Linked DNA regions of Homo sapiens: regions 2 and 3 are each linked to region 1. Evidence: promoter capture Hi-C in 16 types of primary human blood cells and fetal thymus (Javierre and others, 2016). All regions are on one chromosome and are shown on one strand. Each heading gives the region's core, a stretch centred on a gene start or on the middle of the fragment in contact. The rest is flanking DNA. Distances are from core to core; before and after follow the strand shown.

Region 1 (4,701 bases), core at 752-3,251:
TGAACTCTTTAAGTCCAGCTTTGCAGACTTCAAATGCTAACTTAGCCAGATTATGTGAGCAGCAAAACACAAGGGGTCGGGTGGGAGTGTTCCAAACAGGATCAAACTAAACCAAATAACAAACTGTCATTATTCAGGACTTAAACTTATTCCTTAGATATAAATACATTCTGTAAATAATGCTCATCTAGTGTTTTTTTCTTTGTCTAGACAGACATCTCGGACCTCTGTCCCAGACTATTATGGCACCACCAGGGAAATGGGCGGCAAATGGATTATCTGTCCAGCACCCTTTTCCTGGGTATGGGCTCATCTCCACATGGCTTCAGCAGGAACAGTCACGTTTGTAGAAAAGAGCCCTGTCCCTCATTCCCAGGTGATTTAGAATTAAGACTGTGGTGGTGTGATAGATTTCCCATGTTAACACAAGCAGCATTGATTTCTATAACCCAAAAGTAATAAAAGAGCCAGTCAAAGTTCTAAGTGAAAAATGGTGAGATGGCATTCAAGGCATAGAGCCAAAGTAAAATTTGTAAGGGAAGGAAGATTGATCACATACCCACACCATGGTGTCACCTCTAATCCTGCATCCATGCTTCTCTCCATGCTCCCCTCCATGCTCATCATGACTCATGATTACCTCTCTGATTTTATTTCCTATCACTCTCTCTTCCTTATTCTGATCCAGCCATCTAGGCTGCCTTTCCGTCCCTCAATTGTGAAGACTCTTGATTTTCTTGTAAATGAACTAGAAAGCCAATGCAGCAATCTAAGCAGAGGCCTGAGATCAGACCTATAAGATCTCTCTGACTGTAAGTGGAGTATAGACTGATTGTAGGGGAACAAAAATGGAGAAAAGAACGCCGGTTAAAAGCTGTTACATTAAATAGTAGTCCAGGCAAGAGATGATAGAGGTGTGGACTACGATGGTCTCAGAATTAGTGCTGAGAAATGTCTGGATAACAGGATTTACTGATGGGCTGGATATAGGATGAGGAAAGGGAGGAATTAAAGTTAAGCCCCAGGTTTTGGGTTAGAGCAGCTGGTGACTTTAGGGGCCATTTATAGAAATGGTGACGATTAAGAGAGGGGCATGAATTATTATACAAATTCTGCTTTGGACAAGTTAAGGCTGAGGTATCTATTTAAACATTCAGTAGGCTGAAGGATCATTCAGTCCTAATTGTTTACTAAACAAATAATAAGTACCTATATTGCCAGGCACTACGGTAGGACCTAGTCTGAAGAAAGGAACACAGTTCTATGAGACTATGAAACCAAAGATTTACCCACGACTTGGTCAGCTGCCCCAGGAGCCAGAAAATACAGCCTAGCTGAGATCTGAAGAAGGAAGGGAAAACTGCAGGATAAAGAAGAGCATTTGAAAAGGCTTCTACGGTAGAACGCGGCAAGAGCCTTCAAGAAACTGAGGGCCCAAGTGAGTGCCGCCCGCAGAGTGAAGAGGAGGACAGCTGCTGCCCCGAGGGGAGAGGGCCCCCTCTGCGAGCCCGGGGTGGCCGATTCAGGATCTGAGGCTTCAGCCTGAGAACTAAAGAGGACGAGAAGAACACACCTGTTGTGGCGGGCTTTTTCGGGGAGGACGCGGGTTGGGAGATTAACTGGACCGGACTAGACCTTTAAAAAATAACTACTATGGCTGCAGTGTGTTAAAGACCGAGGAGAAACCTGAGAAAGAACTTATCTCCAGTTTCTCCTCACAGACCCTCAGGGTCAGGGAAGACCCTACACTATTTTTACACAGCCTGGGCTTGCCAAAAAGTTTTTCTCAGGTATAAACCAACTAGGGGAGCGTGTCCTTCTCACCTCGTCAATGACCTCGTCCTCTTCATCCTTTTCCTTGTCACTGTCATCATCGTCTTCATCCTCATTTTCGACTTCTTTTTCCTCTTCCTCGTCGCGCTGGACTGGGGGATCCGGCGGCTGCGGAACCCCACTTTCCACGGCACGCCGCTTAGACCTGGACGCCATGTTGCCGCTCACACTGCGCCTGCGCAGCTTCCCCTTGCCTGACCTTCCGGACCAGCCCATAGTAGCCAAGGGGGTGAGGAACTACGAAGAAGCTCGGCGCTGAGTGCACGTCAACCCCAATGCCCCTGCTGGATTCCGCAGCCATGACCCCTTACAGTCACGTCCAGCTTGCGGTCCCATCTTGCTTTTTTCTTCCGCTTTCCACCCTCCATCACTCCTCCCAAAGCTTCCCCTCCCCTTCCCGTAGTGGTTCAACCCATCTAACCTCTGGCCTCATTCCGTGGCCTGGATGGCGGTGCGCATGCGCGAGCGCCTAGCTGCGCGCAGCCACCCACGCGACCCCAGTCTGAGGTGCGGGGTCCTGGGGCCCGGCGCGGGTGGCCGCCGCGGCCCCTCGGGCTGCGTGGGGAGGGGGCTTCCGCCCCTGTTGTCATTGCTCCTGCAGCCTTTTCGCTGGGACTGCGCGACACCGCCCCCCGACCGGGTGCCCGCTGTGTGCCAGGCCGGGTGCTGGGCACGGTCCCGCGAGGTAGGTGTCGCCGCCCGCTGTACCGGTACGGACGCCGAAGCCCGCGGGCGTGCAGGGGCCCGGCCCCGGGCGGTGTGTGACACAGTGGGGCCAGGGCCCCGAGGCTTCCGCGGACCTGGGCCTGCCCAGGCGGGGATGTCCGCTGCCGCTACCGCTGCGCCGGTGACGGAAGGCGCCTGCCCAGCCTACCCTCGCCGAGCTTCTGGAGCGCATTTCTTGACCTAAAAGTTTTTTTAAAGCCGGCACCGCAGTTAAAAATGCTTCGGCGGGGGGCCGGGCCCGGTGTCTCGCGCCTGTAATCCCAGCACTTAGGGAGGTCAAAGCGGGTGGATCACCAGAGGTCAGGAGTTCGAGACCAGCCTGGCCAACATGGCAAAACCTCATCTCTGCTAAAAGTACAAAAATTAGCCGGGCGTGGTGGCGGACACCTGTAATCCCAGCACTTTGGGAGGCCGAGATGGGTGGATCACTTGAGGTCAGGAGTTCGAGACCAGCCTGCCCAACATGGCGAAATCCCATCTCTACTAAAAATACAAAAACTAGCCAGGTGTGGTGGTGCGCGCCTGTAGTCCCAGCTACTCAGGAGGCTAAGGCAGGAGAATCGCATGCCCCCAGGAGACGGAGGTTGCAGTGAGCCGAGATCGCGCCACCGCACTCCACACTCCAGCCTGGGCGACAGAGGTAGACCCTATCTAAAAAAAAAAAAAAATGCTTCGGGGCCAGTGGGGTAGTCTAGGTTAAAGACCCGAGCCTATTTGGAGAGAAGAGTGGAGGGGACTGCGGCCAACTGCAGAGCGAGCGCCAGCCCCTGTGGCAGGTGGGGATGCAGCCTGGGGCAGCCAGGTCTTCCCATTGCGAGAGAAACAGGGTTCATCAGCTTTCTAGGAATAAGATCTGCGGTTCTCAATTGATTTTTCTCTGTAAAATGAGGGGGGTGGGTTGGATATGTTTGATTCTAGGAATGGTGTGAGCTGCGCTAATAGGCTGCTTCTGTTTAAGCAGGGTAACATCTGATAAATCAGTGATCCTTCATCAGTACGAGATGGCGTGCCCTAAAGGTCCCCAGGAGCCCAGATTGCCCATAATCGTGTTCTGTGATTTCGGTCTTTCCTGGGAGTCTCTTGTCTACCCAGCCATGTCATGGATATTAAAGTAATACTTACACATCAGCGCTCCACATCTGATGGGGCAGCTTGAAATGGCCTCTTTGGGTCGCACAACTGCAAAAACATGTTCCTGTAATGGAGAAGAGAGGAAGCTGTCAAAAAAGACCCATCAAAAGGCTAAGATTAGAAAAAAGACTCAGAAAGACCATGTGAACATATCAACAGAGTTGCACTGAGATACCATAGCCAATTTTTTTTCCTGTTTCTTTATACTTTTTTTATGGTGGTAAAAGATACATAACATACATTTTACCATCTTAACTATTTTTAAAGATACAGTTCAGTGGCATGAAGTGCATTCACATTGTGCAACCATCACCACCACTATCCATTGGCAGAACTCTTTTCATCTAGCAAAATTGAAACTGTAGTTAAACAACTCCCTTATTTTCCCTCCATGACCTTTCTACTTTCCATCTTTATTAATTTGACTATTCTAGAAACCTCATGTAAGTGGAGTAACACAATATTCTTCCTTTTGTGACTATTTCATTCAGCATGATGTCTTCAAAGTTTATCCCATGCTGTAGCATGCATTAGGATTTCCTTCCTTGTTAAGGCTGAATAATACTCCATTGCATGTATAGACCACATTTTGTTTATCTACTTATCTGTCGGTAAACATTTTGGTTACTTCTACATTTTAGCTGTTGTAAATAATGTTGCTATGAACATGAGTATCAAATATCTGTTCGAGTCCCTGCTTTCAATTCTTTGGGGTATATATGTAGCAGGGGAATTGCTAGATCATATGGTAATTCTATGTTTATTTTTTTGAGGAACTATACTTTTTTGTAGTTTGCAAATCTTTCACAGTAAACAGGATCACTTTTGTAAGACAAGTAGGGGAAAAAGCCTTACTTTATGCCCTCAGATTAGTTCCCAGTGTTGAGCTCATGGTCAAAGTGTGAATTAGAATAGTGAATGTGAAAGTAAATACAGTACTGACCCTAGGGAACTGAACTCAGCAGGTAGTAGATTGCTTACCACTCGTTCAGTGTTCATCTTTAGCTCAGA
Region 2 (4,701 bases), core at 584-3,083, 7.6 Mb before region 1:
TGTCTGGCTGCACTAATATTTATTGGATACAAAGCAAAAGGGGCAGGGTAAGGAGTGTGAGCCATCTCCAATGACAGGTAAGGTCACGTGGGTCATGTGTCCACTGGACAAGGGGCCCTTCCCTGCCTGGCAGCCAAGGCAGAGAGAGAGGGAGAAAGAGAGACAGCTTACGCCATTATTTCTGCTTATCAGAGACTTTCGGTACTTTCACTAATTTTGCTACTGCTATCTAAAAGACAGAGCCAGGTGTACAAGATGGAACATCAAGGCGGACTAGGAGCGTGACCACTGAAGCACAGCATCACAGGGAGACAGTTAAGCCTCCGGATAACTGCGGGCAGGCCTGACTGATGTCAGGTCCTCCACAAGAGGTGGAGGAGTAGAGTCTTCTCTAAACTCCCCTGGGGAAAGGGAGACTCCCTTTCCCGGTCTGCTAAGTAGCGGGTGCTTTTCCTTGACACTGACGCTACCGCTAGACCACAGTCGGCTTGGCAACGGGCGTCTTCCCAGACACTGGCGTTACCGCTAGACCAAGGAGTCCTCTGGTGGCCCTGTCTGGGCATAACAGAAGGCTCACACACTTGTCACGTCTCACTATGTCCCCTCAGCTCCTATCTCTGTATGGCCTGGTTTTTCCTAGGTTATGATTATAGAGCAAGAATTATAATAATATTGGAATGAAGAGTAATTGCTACAAACTAATGATTAGTAATATTCATATACAATCATATCTATGACCTATATCTAGTATAACTATTCTTATTTCATATGTTTTATTACACTGGAAAAGCTCGTGTCCTCGGTCTCTTGCCTCGGCACCTGGGTGGCTTGCTGCCCACAATGCGCACTCACTGACCACTCGGGCTCTGGCAGCACAACCTGGCCACTTCCCACAGGAGACGTGCACTCCCTGGGTGTCCAGGTCACGAACCACACATTAGATGGGGGCACGCCATATGAGAAACGATGCTGGCACGCTTCTGCAAAGCAAAGGGCTGTTTCTAAAGCAGAGCCTGCCTGGGCAAACTGACAAGTGTGCGTCCGGCAACTCTTCCGTTAGAACAAGCGACCTCGGGAAAACACAGCCACACTGCTGAAGGCGTCTGAGAGAAAGGCCTTTACCTGCTGCTCTGTAAGATCCGCCAAGTCCATCTTGTTGAGGACCAGCAAGTGAGGCTTAAGCCCAAGGGTTTCCTGAAACAGAGGGTTGCGGCCTGAAAGTGGGATGTGGCAAAATTAAGGTAAAAATTCCTCCAAAGCTTTACCAGCCAACCAACTTTTTTTCTTGCCATCAGTGAACGAATCATCACATCCTGCCAATTCATTCCTCAAGTACAGGAGAAAAGCCCCAGTTGGCAGGAACATTTAAACAGTTTCATAGCCCATCTAGAGGATTCCACTGCTGCACCGTACCGTCAGGCTTGAGTGACGCAGATATATGTATTAACAATGAAGTTTCAAAGACACGCAGTCTGGACCCCACATCACAGATTCTGATTAACTGGTCTAGAAAGGGGCCTCGCAATTCATATTTTTAAAAGCCTCCCCAGGTAATTCTAATGTGTAATATGACTTCAGGCAGAGGGGCCTCCCCTGCTCTGTGAAAGGATATCCGGGCATCGTGGACCTCGATGATACAGTCCACCAGCTTCAGGCTGCTCTGCATCTTCTTCAGCCCTGGAAAACAGAAGGACGCCTCAGCGAAGGGGCTCACAACCTTTCTAGAGTGATCGATTCAAGCTGAACCGTCCAGAATGACACGCCACCATAAATAACCTAAAAAGACTATATCTGAGGGAAGCGTACTAAGTAATGGTAACAGATAACATCCGCTGAGCGCCTCCTCCAAGGTCCGCACCCTCGGAGTGGGAGACTGGGAGGCACCCTGCCACAGGGTGGGCCATGTGTCAAAAGCCAGATGCGGTCTTCACCACCTGACTCATGGCTGACTCTGGGTGGAATATTTAACGTGCATGGGTCGCTTTTTTGTTTTCTGAGACGGAGTCTTGCTCTGTCACCCAGGCTGGAGTGCAGTGGCACGATCTCGGCTCACTGCAACCTCCGCCTGCCAGGTTCAAGCAATTCTCCTGCCTCAGCCTCCCGAGTAGCTGGGACTACAGGGACGCGCCACCATGCCGGGCTAATTTTTTGTATTTTTAGTAGAGACACGGTTTCACCATGCTGGCCAGGATAGTCTCGATGTCCTGACCTCGTGATCTGCCCACCTCGGCCTCCCAAAGTACTGGGATTACAAGCGTGAGCCACCGGGCCGGGCCCTTCCACGGGTCTTAATCTGGGCTATAACACAGAGTAACACTGGCTCATTAGGCCCCTGCTACCTCGCGGGGATGATGACGATAGTCCCCTAACCAGGAATACCACACACAACCAAGATAACAAAGCTTCCAGCTTTCTTCCCCTCCAGTGTTATCCGAAGACCGAGGACACAGCCTCAGTCACCCACACGGGCCCTTCTTCCCCCTCGGCCCCCAGTACACGCGGAGCCGACGCAGGAGTGGCCATCACAACACCTAGACGGGCTGGGCTGGCCCCAGAGGTCTTCTTGGGGCCGAATTGTGACAAACAGTAAGAATTACCAAAGACGTTAAGCAGGAGAACGACTCAAGATACCAGTTAAAACTGAACAGGTGCCTTCATACCCACTGTTTCATTTAGTCCCCAAAAGACTCAGAAAAGTCTATCTTGTCAAGAACATGTGGAAACGGAGGCTTCGGGGGATTAAAAGGGCAGAAGGAACTTGCTGGGAACAGAGGACAGGGGCGGCGGGCCAGAGGTAGGAGGTCAAGCAGGCCCTGGGTCCGAGGCTGCGCCGCGGGGGCACTCGCGGGAACGGGCCTCTCCCGCAGCTGCGCAGGGGAAGGGGTCCCGGCGGCTCCGGGAGCGGGTGAGAGCGGGGAAGGAGGGGAGACAAGGGAGGAGGGGCGGGGCCAGCCCAGAACGACCGGGAGAAGCAGGCGACGGCCGAAACCGGGGTGGGAGGGAAGCAGAGGCGCCGCGGCCGTAGGCATGACCTTGCCCCTCCCCGCCGTGCCTCACCCTTGGCCATGTGGCCCGGGAACCAGCGCGCCACGTCGCGACCGCACAGGGGGAAGTTCTCCCGCCAGGCGGCCTGGGCGGCGCTGCACAGCGCGCGCGGGGTCAATCTCATGGCGGCACCGTCCCCGGAAACGCTCCCGCAGCTGACCTCCTCTGCGCCGCTGCGACCCGCCTCTGAGGTTCCGGCGCTGCGGGCCTCCGGCACTGCGGGCTTCCGGCGCTCCAAGGGGCCGCACCACGGCCTGCGCGTGCGCACGACGTTGCCTCCGCCTCCGGCGAAGCCCGGAGTGGGCGGGGCCCGGGCCCAGAGGGAGGGACGAATGGTGGGTCGAGCGTCGGGGCGGGACTGCGAGGAGACCCGGGGGGACGGGGAGGTTCCTGGGTTTTGTGGGTTTAAGTAATTCGCAGATTTATTAACATTCATTAAATATTAAAAATCATCGTTCTCCCTTAAGCATATCCTGAGTATAAGTGTAAAAATTTAGCAATCTCTTTTTACAATTTGGTTAAAATCTCTCAAATACTTTAAATTTACCTTATAAATGTAATCTCTTCATTTTCTTTTTAAGTACTTCAGGGTTTTTGTTTGTTTTGTTTTGTTTGAGACGGAGTCTCCGCTCTGTTGCCCAAGAGTGCAGTGGCACGATCTCGCTCATTGCAACCTCCAACTCCTGAGTTCAAGGGATTCTCCCACCTCAGCCTCCGGAGTAGCTGGGATTACTGGCGCCTGCCACCACGCCGGCTGATTTTGTATTTTTAGTAGAGATGGAGTTCCACCATGTTGGCCAGGCTGGTCTCCAACTCCTGACCTCAAGTGATCTACCTGTCTCGGCCTCCCAAAATGCTGGGATTACAGGCATGAGCCACCGCGCGCAGCCTCAAGTACTTCAGGGTTTAATATAACAAACTGTTTCCAAATACTGACTGCAGTTCTGCTAAATTAAACCGATTAATTAATGAGGCTGAAATATTCTCCACTGTCCAAGACTAGACATAAATATAGTCGGATTTCAACTCTAAATCAGCAGTCAGCAACTGCTCAATTGCACACTGCGTTACAAGAGTATTACTCTACCGGAATTTTTATTTTTGAGACGGAGTCTCGCTCTGTCGCCAGGCTGGAGTGCAGTGGCGTGATCTTGGCTCACTGCAACCTCCGCCTCCCGGGGTTCAAGCAGTTCTCCTGCCTTAGCCTCCTGAGTAGCTGGGACTACAGGTGCGCACCACCACGCCCGGCTACTTTTTTTGTATTTTTAGTAGAGATGGGGTTTCACCATGTTGGCCAGGCTAGTCTCGAACTCTGACCTCAGGTGATCTGCCCACCTCAGCCTCCCAAAGTGCTGGAATTACAGGCATGAGCCATGGCACCCAGCCTCTACTGGAATTTTTTAAACAAGCTACTGAAAATACCAAACATGCTCAAATTCTAAGTACAAAAATATTGCCATGGTTCTGATGTTCTTAAACCACCTAATACCCTAACGCCTAGCTGTAAATATTTTTGGGCATGAGAGAGTGGCCCCTCCGTGGAAGACAGAAGCCTCCCAGGTGGTTTCTGGGCTGAGTGGGGGCAGTCAGGGCCTCCTGCTAGGTCAATGCCCCCAAGCCCCCTCCTCACCAAGCCGGTCCCTCACACCCAGAGGG
Region 3 (4,701 bases), core at 1,505-4,004, 6.2 Mb before region 1:
GGCCCTCATTCTTTTCTTCATTCCCCCACCTCTCAGACATCTCTTAGGCAGACATTTTGTGTTGGAACGTCACAATGCATGCTTTCCTTCTCCCAAAAGGAAGAAATGGATTTAGGTTTAGAATGGAAGGAGCAAATGGAAAAACTACAGAATGAGAAATTACTGAAATTATAAAAATACAGATCAAACAACTTTTTTTTCAACTGGCACTAATGACACGGATGGCTTAGGGCAAGCTTTGTCAGACCACTTATGGTCAGAGTCTTCCACCGACATTAGTAAAATATATTCAGCCACTTTCATTAAAGTGGAAGTAAACCTGATTAATCCTTTACCCAATATCAGACAATATCCTCTAAGGCCTGAAGCAAATGAAGGAATAAGATCCGTAACAAAAGACTATATTAAAAGGGGTCTAATTATTCCTTGCGCCAGCATGTAATACTCCAATCCTTCTTGTAAGGAAGCCGAATGGGAAGAGCTGGTATTCTGTACAAGATTTGAGAACCGTCATCAACACTGTGATCCCCAGACATCTGGTAGTACCAAAGCCCCATCCTCTTTCGGCAGCTGGAAGTGAGACACTGTGACTCATTTATGTAGTGCCTTCTTTAGTATTCCAGTGGACCTAGAGTCAGTATTTGTTTGCTTTTACTTGGGATGACTGCGAGCATATCTGGCCTATCAGGAAATATTGCTGATGAAACTGCTGCCTCCATCACAGCCCAACAAAAAGCTACTGACTCACTGGCTAAGGCTGCACTGGACGACTGCATTGCTTTCGATTATTAGCTGAGCAAGCAAGTCTATGTATGGTGGCAAATACCTCTTGATGTGCATAAACCCTTTCCACGAAGTAGAAACTCATATGGGAAAAAGTACAAGCCACTAGGCTACACTATTCTGAACAATTCTCCATTTGATTTTCTTCGTAATACTTTTAGTTGACTCCCTCGAATAGGTTCCGTTTTTCATTCTGGCATACACATTCTCTTTTTCATTGTAATCCTTATGTGCACCGTACTTGGTAACATTTTTGTTTTAATAGAGATGGAGTCTTTCTGTGTTGCCAGGTTGGTCTTGAACTATCAGGCTCAAGTGACCCTCCTGCCTTGGGCTCCCCAAATGCTGGGATTACACACAAGAACCACTGCCTGGCCAGCACTACAGTTCTACTATCGAAATTATTAATGCTATGCTATGTATCTCTGGCGGTTTTTTTTTTTTTTTTTTTGAGACAGGGTCTCACACTGTTGCCCAGGCTGGAGGGTAGTGGCCTGATCATGGCTCACTGTAGCCCCTACCTCCTGGGCTCAAGGAATCCTCCCACAGCAGGTGCCACCATACCCAGCTAAGTTTTTTGTATTTTTTTAGGGGAGAGAAAGCGTTTCGCCATATTGCCCAGACTGGTCTCCAACTCCTGGGCTCCAGCGATCCTCCTGCCTCGGCCTCCCAAAGTGCTGAGATGAAAGACATGCGCCCCACACTGGCCTCTGGATGTTTGTTACTCCTGAGAAAACTAAAATCATGGCACTCCAAAGACTAGAGACGATTCAACAGGCAAGAGCAGGGATGAAATGCACGCAGCGACTGAGGTCTGGCTTCGCGGCTCTGTGACCCCGGTTCAGCTTCTGAGCGCCTGGTTCCTTGGCGGGACGCCTCCTCCTTTCCCGCAAGACCAGACACGACTGTCTGGGAAGCAGCGTTTCTGGGGCGCACCTTGACACTTGGATTTGGATCAACAATGCTTTCAAGAAGAAAGACTTTTGATCAAAAGCGGGAAATGAGAAAGCGACTTTCCTCTGAAAAGTGCCTCCCAGTCCCGAGGCTGCGAGGCCCCCACGCCAGGCTGGCTCCCACGGAAGCCGGGCACCCACCCGGCCCGACCAAGCGCCACTCCGCCCCGTGGACGGGGCGTCCCACCCCGGGGACGCCCGCCCCACACCGCGTTTGCACCCCGGAGGCCCCTTGCCGCAGAGGCGGACGGCGCGCCTCTCCCGGGCCCCTGGGGTCCGCGCCTCCCTCGGGCAGACTCTTTCGACTCTGCTCGAGCCTCCGCTTCTTCCTGCGGGCGGACGCCCCGGACACAACGGGCCCCGCTGTTCACGCAGGGGCGCCCCGGCGGGGCGGGCAAAGACCCGGGGACGCGGTCCCGTCCCGAGACGCTCAGCTCCGGCCCACCGCTCGCAGCTCCCGCCCCGGGCGCAGGTCCCGACCCCACGGGCCGTCTCGGAGCCGCAGCGGCCGCTTCCCTGCACGTCCTCACGCCCCCCGCACGGACGCCGCCAGCCCCGCGCCTCAGTTTCCCCACTAGCAGGATGGAAAGACGGGCCCCGCCCCGAAGCGTAGCGGCGTCTCCGTGGTAGCCAGTGCCCAGAGAGTCCGCCGGTCCCACCGCCCCTTCAAAGGAGAACCCGGCCCACCGCCCGCCGCGGCGGCGACCGCGCAGCCCACTCGTCACGCGGCCCGCGGCGTCCAGCCCGGGCCGGCTCACCTCAGGCGGTCGCTGCCGCCCTCGCGCCTGCGCGCCCCTCGCCCCGCCCCTCTCCCCGCCCGCGTCCCGCGCACCGCAGGCCTCTGCCCCTCGCCCACCGCAGGACCCGCCCCGCGCACGCGCCGCACGTGCCACACGCACCCCACGCCCCTGCGCACGCGCAGGCCCCAAGTCGCGGCCAATGGGCGACGCGGCCGCAGATCCGCCCGGCCCCGCCCTGCCCTGTGAGTTCCTCCGGCCGGGCTGCGGGGCTCCGCTCAGTCCGGGAGCGCAGCTGGGCCGCGGCGCTCCGACCTCCGCTTTCCCACCGCCCGCAGCTGAAGCACATCCCGCAGCCCGGCGCGGACTCCGATCGCCGCAGTTGCCCTCTGGCGCCATGTCGCAGAACGGAGCGCCCGGGATGCAGGAGGAGAGCCTGCAGGGTGAGGCGGAGGAGGCGGCGCGGGAGCCGAGGGGGCGCGGGGGGGAAGCCTGGGGAAGGCCAAGAGGGCGCCAAGGGGAGGTTGCCGGGGAGGCCTAGGGGGCATCGCGGGCCGGGCGAGGCTGCGCCATCCTCCCCTTCCGTACCCACCCCTCCTGCGGGCATGCGGAGCCCGGGGCGTGGGGACCCCGCGTACTGCCCGGGGTTCGCGGCCTCGCCACTCGGGCGGGGGTTGGCTTGGACCCGGGTCGGACCGCACGGGAAAGCCCCGATTCTCCAGCTCCGCGCGAGCTAGAATTCCACCTGGAGGTGAATCTGCGTCTCGCAGTTGGACCGAACAGCCTCAAAGTCCACGTTGCCCTCCGCGGTCTGTAGTTCAGACCAGTATTGGTTTTAATGACCAAACACCAAGGCGTGGCAAGTGGCCTGTTATGAGCTTTAATTTTGTTATTAATGTTTATATCCATGGTGACTGTTAGGATTTCCTCAAGGGTGAACGCGGAGATGGGAGGGGGTTACAGCGTTTTTAAAATATGGCATTAAATGGGCATGTTCCAATTTCACTAGAGGGTCGTTCCAAAACAAAGCTTTAAATGACTTACGGGTTAAGAAAACACAAGCAAAAGGACGCTGCCCGTGCAGCACTCAGTCGTTACAGCCTGCCTAATGCCCGAGTAGAGGCTCGCTGTGTGCCCTTGGCTAGATTCGCAAGACCATCCGTTCACGCAGCGGGAAACGCAGGCCCGGGGTGCAGGACTTGCCCCACGCACAGCCGGGTGGCGTGGAGACCCACCCCACCCGGTGGGTCCGCGTCAGAGTCCAGACGAGCCTTTGCTCAGGGAAGCGGGCACTGAAGCCGCCTTCCCAGGGTCCCTAGGGCCAAAGCCTCGGAGGAGGGACCTGGTGGCAGCTGACCTTTGTGTTCTTTGAAGCCAGAGTTTACTAAGCAAAATTAGCATGTAAATAAGCTTGGGAAAGGACTGCTGAAACCTCTGACAGTGAACTTTTAATCTTCATTGAGAGTTTTTAAAACCATATATTCACATAAATTTAGTGAGTTGCTAATTTTATTACAAAAAAAAAGATTTTACTAGGCAGGACTTAGTTACCGTAATATATTGAATAATATATATATATACATATGAACACTACAAGCTTTTTTTTTTTACCTTTTTTTTTTTTTAAGAGACGGGGTCTCACTGTGTTGCCCAGGCTGGTCTGAACTGGGCTCAAGCGATCCTCCCGCCTCGGCCTCCCAAAGTGCTGGGATTATAGGCCTGAGCCACCAGGCGCGCCTGGCCTAAAACCATATTCTTTAAAATCCTGTAATTCGGATTTTTCCTCTTGAAATTTAAACATTGGCTAATTACTATTTTGAAATAGATTAAGAGGTGTTTTCCTATCTTTTGTCATAAAATAAAGTCCAAGGGATGTTTTTATAAACTCTTTGCCATAAAATCACCCATTTTCCGGTTGTGAAGCCGCGTTACTCCTGACATTGTGCGTTTCACTGTCCGGCTGGGATCTGGGCGCTGGGAGGTGGAGGGGGCTCCGGGGGGCTCGGTCCTCTCTCCAATATGTAACTTACACAGGCTGCTGAGTCATTGGCAGTGCAAGGCGGCCAGCGCCGGAGTTACGAGATTTTTGTTTTTCTGTTTTGTTTATTCTATAAAAAGATAGTTACCCGCGGGGTGGATCCCATGTAGGCGATTCCTTGGGCCGCCCTGAGTGTCCGCGCGGCAGGACGGGGCCACTGTGGGCTCGGCGTGGGCGGGGTTGGCCGGTC

Evidence for each region. Contacts are between HindIII fragments. The CHiCAGO score rates a contact against its expected background, and 5 or more counts as called.
Region 2: a fragment that was not itself captured here is called in contact with the fragment with the promoter of BCCIP in region 1 in 1 of 17 cell types (fetal thymus); the score reaches 5.2 in fetal thymus.
Region 3: the fragment with the promoter of BNIP3 here is called in contact with the fragment with the promoter of BCCIP in region 1 in 2 of 17 cell types (total CD8 T cells and naive CD8 T cells); the score reaches 8.8 in total CD8 T cells.

The regions. Positions count from the first base shown.
Region 1 is chr10:125,820,846-125,825,546 of GRCh38, reverse strand. BCCIP (BRCA2 and CDKN1A interacting protein) reads right to left here and starts at 2,001. Exons shown (of 7, transcript NM_078468.3): 1 at 1,825-2,001. The coding sequence starts at 1,989. It overlaps UROS (uroporphyrinogen III synthase), which reads left to right and starts at 2,289. Exons shown (of 10, transcript NM_000375.3): 1 at 2,289-2,518. RefSeq lists silencers at 1,237-1,456, 2,213-2,642 and enhancers at 1,933-2,132, 1,676-2,361. The HindIII fragment of the contact is 3,281 bases long and covers 1-2,217 here.
Region 2 is chr10:133,392,689-133,397,389 of GRCh38, reverse strand. MTG1 (mitochondrial ribosome associated GTPase 1) reads right to left here and starts at 3,233. Exons shown (of 11, transcript NM_138384.4): 1 at 3,058-3,233; 2 at 1,613-1,677; 3 at 1,123-1,227. The coding sequence starts at 3,169. RefSeq lists an enhancer at 1,553-2,507 and silencers at 2,832-3,031, 3,092-3,441. The HindIII fragment of the contact is 1,143 bases long and covers 1,262-2,404 here.
Region 3 is chr10:131,979,976-131,984,676 of GRCh38, reverse strand. BNIP3 (BCL2 interacting protein 3) reads left to right here and starts at 2,754. Exons shown (of 6, transcript NM_004052.4): 1 at 2,754-2,916. The coding sequence starts at 2,871. RefSeq lists silencers at 2,084-2,203, 2,244-2,433, 2,484-2,783, 3,014-3,243 and an enhancer at 2,651-3,575. The HindIII fragment of the contact is 3,266 bases long and covers 239-3,504 here.